Regions from separate parts of the Homo sapiens genome. Here region 1 is linked to region 2. Evidence: promoter capture Hi-C in human tissues and cell types (Jung and others, 2019). All regions are on one chromosome and are shown on one strand. Each heading gives the region's core, a stretch centred on a gene start or on the middle of the fragment in contact. The rest is flanking DNA. Distances are from core to core; before and after follow the strand shown.

Region 1 (5,914 bases), core at 2,316-4,815, 260 kb after region 2:
CAACCTCACCTTCCCTTCTCATGTCATGGTAATCCAAACTCTGCTTTTCCTCCACTCCTAAAAGTGCTGGGGTGAAATTTAGCAGGGCCTTTCCCATGCTGTGTTTCCAGTCCTTATTTTGCTAGACCTCCCTGCTGCTTTCGGCTATGCCAACACTTTTCATCCCCTGTAGAATCCGTAAAGCTCTTGGCTTCTCTTGACTGCTGGGGCAGCACTCTCCTTCCTGAGTGTCAGTGTTCTCCAAGGTTCCAGCCAACCCTGATGCCCCACAGGCATCTCAGGGTTACCAACTCTGAAATCCGAGCTTGGAATCAGGGATCTCAGACTTCTGTTGTGAAGGTTGATGGTGCCTGGAAGAGCTAACTCAAGGAGAACAGTGCTCAATCAGGAGTTGAGCGGGTTGAATGGCAGATCCTCTGCTTATGAGTAGTGACTCTGGACACATCCTTTCACCCTTCTGTGCATCAGTTTTCCTACATGTAGATTGGGCATAAGAACAGGCTGTTGGAGAGGTTAAGTGATCACCCTACATGGTGCATGGTAAGCACTCATCACATGACAGCTGTTACTAATGGGTTCCCAGTGTCAATGCTGCTACTGAAATACCTCCTCTCATTTTCTTTCTCACTATTCCTACAGCTACTCGGGAGGCTGAGGCAGGAGAATCGCTTGAACCGGGGAGGCAGAGGTTGGAGTGAGCTGAGATTGCACCATCACACTCCAGCCTGGGCAACAGAGCTAGACTCCATCAAAAACAAAACAAAACAAAACAACAACAACAAAAACAAACATCAGAACTGGTTTATGAAAGCCTCTTGGTTAAAGCTCTGTCCCCTTGGCTTCATTTCCAGGACTTCCCTCTCCAGTCTCTCTCCCACCCACCCTGTATCTCCAGCCACTGCAGGCTCCCTGCAGGGTTTGCACAGTGAGCCATGCTCTTTCAGGCCTCTCCATCATTGCAGGTGCCATTCTTCCTGGCTGAAGCCCGCCTTCCCTTCCTCCCTGGGCTTCACCTCCTTGAGGAAGTCCATCTGGGTCTGTAGGTGACTGCCACTGTAGAGATTGGTGGGATTGAGATAACTGACAGTCGCACACTGACCCCCACCTGGGCCATCCTCTTCTTGCTCTTGAGTTTGCTTTGAGGACTGACCTCACTTGAGCCCAGTATTTACAGAAGTCTCTGGCATTGTGGAAAACTAAGGGTCCCACAGTGACAAGACTTGTTTTCCCACAGCTGCAGAACCCTTCATCGCTCCCTGAGGAGACTCAGCTCAGAGCACAGCATGTGACAGACACATGGCTATGCAATGCCATCTAGATGTCATAGAGGAGGTAACAGGGTGCTTTGGAAGGACATGTGGTTTCAGGACCACCTTCTAGGATGATGTTTTTATGGGCAGATGCAAGCTTGCTTTGGAATGTCAGGACATCAGGCCAATCCTGCCCTGGGGCCACCTTGTCCAACATCACCCTCCCATCTAGGCTGCCAGGCTGGCGAGCCCCCAATGGACCCTGCCTCCCCTAAGGCCTTACTTACCCCCACCAGGACATTTCAGCATCATTACTGGATGGGAAGGTGGAAATCCAGTCACTGTTTTGTTATATAGCCACGATTCCTAACTTGTGTGGGGAAAAGTTTACATCTTTATTGTCACAAGCCTTTAACTGAAATTGAGCATTCCCATTCATCATAAATTACAGACAGCAAGCCGTGGTGTTAATAGTACTATAACTTTGTCACCAATAGAAATCCAGATAATTTCATCTTCTTCTAGTTATGAATAGAAGAACATTTATATCATTCATTATGTCAAAATTTCAGTTGTTGTTAGGCCTGATGTTAGATCATGTGAGTTAGTGAGTTAATAAATACATTTTTTTTTTTTTGAGGCAGGGTCTCTGTCTGCCGACAAGGCTGGAGTGCAGTGGTGCAGTCTCGGTTCACTGCAACTTCCACCTCCCAGGCTCAAGCAATCCTTCCACCTCAGCCTCCCAAGTAGCTGGGACTACAGGCACATGTGCCACCATGCCTGGCTAATTTTTGTATTTTTTTGTAGAGGCAAGGTTTTGCTATATTGCCCAGGCTGGTCTCGAACTCCTAAGCTCAAGCCATCCACACACCTCAGCCTCCCAAAGTGCTGGGATTACAGGTATGAGCCACTGTGCCCGGCCAATACATATATCCAAATTTTTAAATTTTGTTTTTGATGGAGTCTTGCTCTGTCACCCAGGCTAAAGTGCATGGTACAATCTCGGCTCACTGCCATCTCCACCTCCCAGGTTCCAGTGATTCTCATGCCTCAACCTCCTGAGTAGCTGGGACTACAGGCATGCACCACCATGCCCCGCTAATTTTTTGTATTTTTGGTAGAGATGGGGTTTCACCATATGGCCAGGCTTGTCTCAAACTCCTGATCTCAAGGGATTTGCCCATTTCGGCCTCCTAAAGTGCTGGGATTACAGACGTGAGCCATCGTGCTGGGCCAAAAAGTTTAATTTTAAATATTTGAATTTTTTTTTTTTTTTTTTTTTTTTTGGCAGAGTCTCTCTCTGTCGCCCAGGCTGGAGTGCAACGGCATGATCTCGGCTCACTGCAACCTCCATCTCCCGGTTCAAGCGATTCTCTTGCTTTGGCCTCCCGAGTAGCTGGGACTACAGATATGCATCACCGTGCCCGTTTTCTTTTTGTATTTTTAGTAGAGACAGTTTTCCCACATTGGCCAGGCTGATCTCGAACTCCTGACCTCTGGTGATCCGTCCACCTCGGCCTCCCAAAGTGTTGGGATTATAGGTGTGAGCCATCACGCCTGGCCTAATACTTGAATAATATTTTAAAGCAATTGGTGCTCTTGGTAATTCTATATGTTTTATTTTTTGCATTTAAGGCATTATTCTGAGAAGAGGTCTGTAGGCTTCACCACACTGCCAATGGGGTCCATGGCATACACAGGGAAAAACCATTAAGAACCCTGAGTAAATTTCAAAATCCCAGACCTGTCATTTGGCAGAGACACCACCAGGGAGCAGAATAACAAAAAGAATGTGAGCTCCAGGCTGCAAAGTCCAAAAGGGAGAAGGTAATCTACACGCGCTTTATCCAAACCTGTGACTGAGTGCCAAAAAGGAAGGAGCCTTAGAGAGCGAGCCCCATAGGATATTGTCATCTGGGGAGATTGAGGCAGGTAGGCGCAGAGCCTGAGTGAGGAAAACCCAGGTCCCGCAGCTCCCAGTCCTTTTCCACTGCACCCCACTGGACCGCCAGCTGCTTCTTAGGACCTGGCTAATGAAGCAGAACGTGGCACCACTCCTGTCCTGGACGTTACCCACCTTCTCACTCTAGATGGTAGAGAAGACCGTGGATCACCTGGGGACACAGGTGAAAGGCCTGCTGGGCCTGCTAGAGGACCTGGCCTGGAACCTGCCCGGGGGACCCTTCAGCCCCGTCCCCGACCTCCTCGGAAAAGGTGAGCAGTGCAGGTGGCAGAGGACAGCCTCTGGGCTGCTGTCATCTGGCGCTGTGCAGGCGAGACGGGGACGGCTGCTACGCCGCACAGGTGTAGCCTGGATAGCAGGGAGGGTCCCAGCGCCCCCTGGGGACGGAATCGGGACCGCATCATCCCTGCTCCCCTCCCCTACCACCCCGCCCCCACACCCGGTCGCTGCCTCCCAGCGTCAAATGAGGTTCTGGAAGAGCCGGCCCTAGATGACATCTCAGCACAACCCCGGCGCAGAGAAGCTACCTGCTTCATTGGCCTTCTCACGACTGGAGCTCCTCAGTTCCTTTCATTTCCCCCTGAGGAGCCACTCCTGTTCCACCCCAAAACCGTCGCAGGGAAGACGGGCACCCCCACTGATCAGGCAGGGATGGGGTTGCACTCTGTTCTCTCCTTGATCCCTGTGTCCCTGGCGCAGGAGGAGTTCCCGGGGGCTGGGGAGGGGAGGGAAGGCACTGCTGAGCACCACGGGGGCGGGTACCCTGCAGCACCCCAGCTTGCTCAGTGGAGGCCGCTGCTTTCTTTCAGATGGCTTCTGAGCCCCGGAGCTGGAGCCCAGCAGCTGGAGGTGGTGCACCTGCCAGGCAGCACCCTCTGATAGCCAGCGCTGTCCTCTCGCCTTCCTTCCTCAGCTTCGTGTGAAATAAAAGCTACTGTTTTTGGTCTCCTCTGTGTCTGCTGACAGAGTAACCCGTTTACAGCCCCCTCTCCCTCCACTTCCATGCCTGGGGGAGGCCGGCCACCCCCTCCAGGCTCAGACCTGGGGACACGCCCACTCCCGCCATCTGTGCTTTAGCATTCCCTTATTTATAGGGGCAGATGGAGCAGGGGTTGATTCACAGAGGTGGGGGCCCTTCGAGTGGCCTTGCGTCTCAAAATGTGGCCATAGGTGAGAAGCAAGGGGAGCACGGTCTCAGGACCCACCCGGACTCCTTAATCCAAATCTGCATTGCAATCAGACCCCCAGGGAATTTATGTGTCCATTAAAGAGGTTTGTTGTTGTTTTAAAAAAAATTTCCTATGAAGTGGAATTCAATGTAAAATTCATCATTCTAACCATTTTAAATTGTGTAAGGCTGGGGGCAGTGGCTTACGCCTATAATCCTAGCATTTTGGGAGGCCAAGGTAGGAGGATCACTTGAGCCCAGGAGTTTGAGACCAGCCTGGACAACATGGTGAAACCCCATCCCTACAAAAAATACAAAAATTAGCCTGGCATGGTGGCATGGTGGTGCATGCCTGTAATCCCAGCTACTCAGGAGGCTGGGGTAGGAGGATCACCTGAGCCCTGGAGACCAAGGCTGCGGTGAGCCATGATTGTGCCACTGCACTCCAGCCTGGGTGACAGAGTGAGACCTTGTCTCAAAAAAATAATGATAATAAAATAAATAAATTGTACAAATGCAGTGGCGTCCAGTACATTCAGAAGTTGTGCAGTCATCACCGCCAGTTCCAGAACATTGTTCTCACTCTAGAAAGAAACTCTGTATCTATCAAGCAGTCACATCCCATTCCTGCTGCCCCCCACCCCCCCTGGAAACCACTGATCTCTGTCTCCATGAACTTGCCTCCTCTGGACATTTTAAATACAGTAGTCCTGCTTTATCTGTGGTTTCACCTTCCATGGTTTCAGTTACCTGAAGTCAACCACAGTCCTAAAAGATTAAACTCCAGAAATAAACAATATATGAGTTTTCAATTGCACATCATTCTAAGTGGCGTGATGAAATCCCTCGCCATCCCACTTTGTCCCACCCGGGACATGAACGCTCCCTTTGTCCAGCATGGTCCACGCTGTCTACACTTCCAGCCTGTTAGTCACTTAGGAGCCTTCTCCGTTACCAGGTTAACGGCCACAGTATCACAGTGCTTGTGTTCCAGCAACACTTCATTCACTTAATCAAGACCCAAAGTTCAAGAGCAGTGTTGCTGGCATACGTGGTTGTTTTTCACGTAACTCTCCCTTCACAGAAGCTGGCATATTGTTCTAGTTTTTCTATTTTATTCTTAGCTATTGTTACTAATCTCTTATGGTGACTAATTTATAAATTAAACTTCATAGGTATGCATGCATAGGAAAAAACATAGTATCATAGAAGTAGATACTATTGTAGTTTCAGGCATCCACTAGTGGTGTTGAAATCTATCTCCTGAAGGTAAGGAGGTACCACAGTAAATAGAATCATACAATATGTAGCCTAGCTGTATCTGGCTTTTTCCTCAGAGCATAATGTTTTCAAGGGCCATCTGTATTCTAGCATGTATCAGTACTTCATTCCTTCTTATGGATGAATAATGTTTCATAGTATGAATATACCACATTCTATTTTTTTTTTTAGACAGAATCTCACTCTGTCACCCATGCTGGAGTGCAGTGGCATGATCTTGGCTCATTGCAACCTCTGCCTCCTGGGTTCAGG
Region 2 (5,887 bases), core at 1,472-3,971:
GAGGCCGAGGTGTTTGTCACGCCTGGGGCTGTGCTCTCCAGCACAGCACACCGCACTCTGGCCGGCTGTCTTCCCTTGGAGAGGGGCTCTTTACACTCACCACAGTTCGCCTCTGGGGTGTGGGGGTGTTGGTCCTGTCCCCAGATGCCAGCCCGACTGTGGGGTCTAGAGACTGCCACACTATGTCTCTAATAAACCGAGTCAGAAATCGTGCCCTGTGGCTAAGCGGCAGGGCAGCGATGGCCTGCATGGTCCTGCCCTTGGAGCTCAAAGCTGCTTGGGCCTCCTGGGGCCAGGCAGTTTCCATGGAAACAAGGGAGAGCACCAACCCCCAGAGATAAGCCAATAAACGCAACCTGCAAAAGGAGAGAACAGGCAGCAAGAGAGGCGGAGGGAACCCGGGGGGCCTGGAGAGAGAGGCGAGTGTGTGGCAGCCGGGCTGTGGAGCAGAACCGGAGAGGCCGCAGGCTGCGGGCTGGAGGAAAAGGAGGGCCTTGCAGGGGGGCTACTGTTCCTGGCAGAGAGAAAGGAGGCCTCTGGAGGTCAGAGAGAGACACAAAGAGAGCAGACAGAGCGAAGGTCAGTGAAGAGGCCAGCACGCAGGTGCCCGGGCCCTCTTGGGTCAGCGGGTGTGGGTGCCCAGGCCCTGGCACTCCCCCCATGAAGGCAGCCTGCTCTCCACGCCTTCTCAGGATGCCTGTGCGGGTCTCCTCGTGCTTCCAGGCAGGGAGCCAGCTCTGGGCCTTCTTCCATTGGCCTAGGAGGTTGTGCTGCATTTCAGAGAGAGCCATCGGGAGCAGAAGCAACATGCGGAGAGGATGAGCAGGGACAGAGGCTCCACCATGACACTCTCAGTCCCAGAATCTCCTCAGCCCAGTCACCACACTGGAGAGGGAGGAGGCCCTTCAGACCCCGCAGGCCTCTGCACCCTGGGAGTTCCGCGTCTGACTCTCTTCCTGCAGTCATCAGAGGGAAAGCTGACCAGGACTGGCCAAGCCCCTGCGCAGGAACTGGGCCCAGGTGGGGTAAAGGCAGGAAGACCTCTGCCTGCCCTGGTCCCTGGGCACTTCCCTGGATGCTGTATACCACAGGACAGAGATCGAGACTGTCTTTTGAAAAACATTTAGAGACAGGATCTCACCCTGTCACCCAGAGTGGTCTAAAACTCATGGCCTCAAACGATCCTCCCGCCCTGGGGTCCCAAAGATTATAGGCGTGAGCCAGGGCGCCCAGCCCCAAACTGTCTTGATTCCCGACGTTGTAGGATGAAGGCCTGAGTGAAGAGGTGGAGGGGAGCTAAGCGGAGGAGCCCTACCCAGCCTGGACCACCCTGGGGTACGCACTCTGCGTCCACCTGACCTGGACGTGCCTCCTAAGGCTGGCAGCGAAGCCCAGGAGCAGAGCCCACGGATGGGCCCTGCAGGTGCTGGGCCTAGACCGACAGACAGGCCTGGCCACTCAGGGCCACGCCGCCGCTGTGCCGCGCCTGCCCCCTCCCCGCCCGCCACCCCCGCCACTGGGGCAGGGACAGCGGGCCCAGCTCTGACCTCGGGTCTCGGGCACGCTCGACGTGGGCAGAGACACGGCCGCAGGGTCCTGGGGCTCGCTCGCTAGCCTCTGCCCGGCACACATGGACTTGAGCATCTGGAAGACGGCGAGGGGGGCCACGTTCAGCTTCAGCAGGTCCACCAGGATCCTGGCGGGGACAGACGCGGGGCCGGTGAGCCCTCTCCGCCCGGCGCGGCCACCTCCCTGAAGACCCGACAAGGACGGGGGCGGGGGCTCCTCCCGACCAGCGGGCCGGGCGTACCCGGAAAGCAGAGGTCGGGGGGTGTCTGGCTAGCATGCGGCCCCCACCCGCCCCGCTCACTTGAACACGTCGGGGTCGATAGCGCCGCCCGCCGCCTGCGCCAGCTCGTACAGCTCCATCTCCTCGGTGCTCAGCACCTTCTTCCGCCGCAGCGCCAGCTTCTGCCGGGCCGCCTCCAGCCCCGGGGGCGCCGCCGACCCCGGCCCAGGCCCTACGCCCTGCGCCGCCATCCCCGCGGCCCGCGGAAAGGTGCGCTCCGCCCCGCCGCGCCCCCTAGCGGCTGCGCCCACCACCCTCTCCCTGCAGCGTCAACGTCTGGCCTCCCGGGCTGCCCTGGCGGGAGGGGCGGGAGCGCGGGGACGGGGCCGCCTCCGCGGCGTCATTGAAGCCCAACAGTTATTGGGCGCTCACGGTGTGCTGAGCGGCGCTCTAGGAGCCGGGAGTGGCATGGCGGACCGCAGGGGTCCGCTGCTTGGCGATCTGGGCCTCCCTGATAGACTGCATTGGTCGTGCTCGCTTAGGTGGCAGCACCCAGCCCAGTGCCAGGCATACATTGGGCGCTCGGTAAATGCCTCTTTCAAGAAAGCGTGCAATTTTCTGGTCCGCACCGGTGCACCACTAGGGGTCGCTTTTCGGGGCGGGCGGGGGGAAGGGGGGGGCACTAATCAACAATACTGCTTACGCGCACGCGGATTCCTTGCTGGGGAGAAAGTACCTTGGGGCGCCGGAGGCCGCCACAACGCAGGCGCATTCAGCTAAGGACCACTCCCTCCCCCGCACTCCTGCCTCGCCATTTCTCTTCCCCGCCCGGCCGGCCTTCGCTTTGCGCACGCGCCTTTTGAGGTAACGGCCCAAAGAGGTGGAAGCGCTTTTCCCGCCCGGCCGCGGGGCGTGGCTCTGCGCGCAGCTTGATGACGACTTTCGGCGCCGTGGCGGAATGGCGGCTTCCATCTCTGAGGCGAGCGACGCTATGGATCCCACAGGTGAGTGGCGCGGGATGCGCGCCTGAGACGGTCCGGCGCCCTGGGGGCTTCCCCGAGCCCCTGCGGAGGCCATCTCCGTTCCTCCGCGAGCCCCAGGACTCGGGCCGGCCAGCCGGCTCTGCCCAGGCAGGGCAGGCTGGGGAGTGGAGGGCCCCGGTTGAGTCTTCTGCCACCCCTCTGGGCCATGCCTTTGTGCCACCTTCCCGCGCGGCTCGTACACTCTGTCCCGGTCCGGTAGGTGTTCGCTGAAGGTTAACCTTCGTTGAAGGAATTGAGGGAAGGAGAGCTTTGTGTTGAAGTTGAGCCTTGGGCTCAACAGGCGGTGTGGGTGTAAGAGCCGGGTGTGGGTCCCAGCTCGACCCTTCCCCTGTGTGCTCCACATCTCCGAGCCTTGGTTTTGGAGGCTCCCGAAGCCCAATTGGCAGGAGAGTTGGGAACAAGTGGGCGCGTGCTGTTAAGGGAGGTCTTGGCATGACAGAATTTGCTTGGAATGATTAGCGTTGCCCAAGGGCTGTCGCTGTCAGAAAAACAAAACAAAACAAAAAACAAACGGGGTCCGAAGCAGCTCCTGGAGAAAATAGGTGTTGGAGAGTCGCCATGAAGTGGACTCTAGGTGCATGGCACGCAGAGACCTGTGACGGGGGAGGGTGGCCATGGCAGAGTCAGATAACAGGGGTGTGGGAGACACCTCTTGGGAATTCTCGGGTTTGAATTTCCTTTCTTGGAAATTTCCTAGAAATTCCTCTGGGCCTCATTCTTTCAGTCGCTGCCCATGAAAGCTTCTTCTGAGCAGAGATGCTCTCCCCTTCATCGTCTCTAGAGCTCCGCACTTACCGAACAGTCCACAGTTTAATGCTGCTTTGATCATTTTGTAGTAGTGCAGCGTTTTCTTGACCAAGTGCCTTAGGACTGAGGCGTTTTTCTTTAACACTGCAGTTGATAGCTAGGTTAAGAATTGAGGCCGGGAGCGGTGACTCACGCCTGTAATCCCAGCACTTTGGGAGGCCCAGGCGGGTGGATCACGAGGTCAGGAGTTCAAGACCAGCCTGGCCAAGATGGTGAAACCTCGTCTCTAGTAAAAAATACAAAAATTAGCCGGGCGTGGTAGCGGGCGCCTGTAATCCCAGCCACTTGGGAGGCTGAGTAAGAGAATTGCTTGCACCCGCGAGGCGGAGGTTGCAGTGAGCTGAGATCGCGCCACTGCACTCCAGCCTGTGCGACAGAGCCCAGAGCGAGACTCCGTCTGAAAAAAGAAAAAGAGAAAGCTGGCCGGGCGCAGTGGCTCACGCTTGTAATCCTAGCACTTTGGGAGGCTGAGGCGGGCGGATCACGAGGTCAGGAGATCGAGACCATCCTGGCTAACACGTGAAACCCTGTCTACTAAAAATACAAAAAACAATTAGCCGGGCGTGGTGGCGGGCGCCTGTAATCCCAGCTACTAGGGAGGCTGAGGCAGGAGAATGGCGTGAACCCGGGAGGCGGAGCTTGCAGTGAGCCCAGATCGCGCCACTGCACTCCACTCTGGGCGACAGAGCGAGACCATCTCAAAAAAAAAAAAAGGAGAAAAAAGAAAAAGCGGCCGGGCATGGTGACTCACGTCTGTAATCTCTGCACTTTGGGAGGCCGAGGAGGGCTGATCACGAGGTCAGGAGTTTGAGACCAGTCTGGCCAACATAGTGAAACCCCATCTCTACTAAAAATACAAAAATTAACTGGATGTGGTGGCATGTGCCTGTAATTCCAGCTACTCGGGAGGCTGAGGCAGGAGAATTGCTTGAACCAGGGAGTCGGAAGTTGCAGTGAGCCGAGATCATGCCATTGGACTCCAGCTTGGCAACGGAGCGAGACTCCATCTCAAAAAAGAATTGAAAAAGTCGGCACTTTGGGAGGCTGAGGCAGCGGATCACTTGAGGCCAGGAATTTGAGACCAGCCTGGCCAGCATAGGGAAACCCGCCTCTACTAAAAATAGAAAAATTAGGCAGCCTGTGGTGGCAGGCCCCTGTAATCCCAGCTACTCGGGAGGCTGAGGCACGAGAACCGTTTGAACTTTGGAGGTGGAGGTTGCAGTGAGATGATGGAGTGAGACTCAGTCAAAAAAAGAAAAAAGAGGCTGGGCGCGGTGGGTCATGCCTGTAAGCCCATCACTTTGGGAGGCCGAGGCAGGCGGATCACGAGGTCAGGAGATCGAGACCATCCTGGCTAATACAGTGAAACCCCGTCTCTACTAAAAATACAAAAAAATTAGCCGGGTGTGGTGGCCAGTGCCTGTGGTCCCAGCTACTCGGGAGGCTGAGGCAGGAGAATGGCGTGAACCCAAGCGGAGCTTGCAGTGAGCCAAGATAGCGCCACAGGACTCTAGCCTGGGCAACAGAGCGAGACTCTGTCTCAAAAAAAAAAAAAAAAAAAGAATTGAAAAAACTTGGGAGATGTTCCTATTGCCGAGAGGCAGAGATTCCTGTCTCCTCTCACTCTACAGCTGCCTACATGGCCTCTTTACACCCAGCCTCTCTTCCTCCACAGACTGCCAGGTGTCACCCCAGTGCCTTTACTTGTGCAGTGGGCAGAGCTGGGCCATGAAAACTGTAACTAGCCCACCAGTGGGACTTGGCAGACTTCCTGTCTGTGAAGTCTAGGTCTGAGCATTTTTCATTTCTGACCTGGGTGAGCTGAGAGGTAGGATTCTGGAAAGCTGATCTTAGTTTTCTTTCTTTTTTTTTCTTTTTTTTTTTCCATTTTTTGAGAGTTTCCCTCTATCACCCCGGCTAGAGTGCAATGGTGTGATCTTGGCTCACTGCAACCTCCGCCTCCTGGGCTCAAGCATTTCTCATGCCTCAGCCTCCCGAGTTGCTGGGACTACAGGTGCCCGCCACCACACCCAGCTAATTTTTATATTTTTAGTAGAGATGGGGTTTTGCCACGTTGGCCAGACTGGTCTCAAACTCCTGGCCTCAAGTGATCTGCCCACCGCGGCCTCCCAAAGTGCTGGGATTACAGGTGTGAGCCATGGTGCCCGGCCTTTGATCCTAGTTTTCTCATGGCTTATTCAAAGGCTCCCTTGGCAGAGCTTGCTCTTCCCCTCCGTTCATTGCATAG

The links. The method cuts DNA at HindIII sites, captures the fragments that hold promoters and counts their contacts. A contact is called where the count stands out against the background at its distance.
Region 1: a contact is called between a fragment that was not itself captured here and the fragment with the promoter of SMPD4 in region 2, in 1 of the 25 tissues and cell types used here (bladder).

Annotation. Positions count from the first base shown.
Region 1 is chr2:129,921,108-129,927,021 of GRCh38, reverse strand. LINC01856 (long intergenic non-protein coding RNA 1856) reads right to left here and starts at 3,845. Exons shown (of 4, transcript NR_110285.1): 1 at 3,741-3,845. It also overlaps the pseudogene PLAC9P1. RefSeq lists enhancers at 2,909-3,722, 3,723-4,538. The HindIII fragment of the contact is 5,757 bases long and covers 687-5,914 here.
Region 2 is chr2:130,178,436-130,184,322 of GRCh38, reverse strand. It overlaps SMPD4 (sphingomyelin phosphodiesterase 4), which reads left to right and starts at 2,721. Exons shown (of 20, transcript NM_017951.5): 1 at 2,721-2,793. MZT2B (mitotic spindle organizing protein 2B) reads right to left here and starts at 2,061. Exons shown (of 3, transcript NM_025029.5): 1 at 1,871-2,061; 2 at 1,548-1,696. The coding sequence starts at 2,040. RefSeq lists enhancers at 1-375, 376-1,112, 3,013-3,809 and silencers at 1,806-2,315, 2,826-2,965. The HindIII fragment of the contact is 11,545 bases long and covers 1-5,887 here.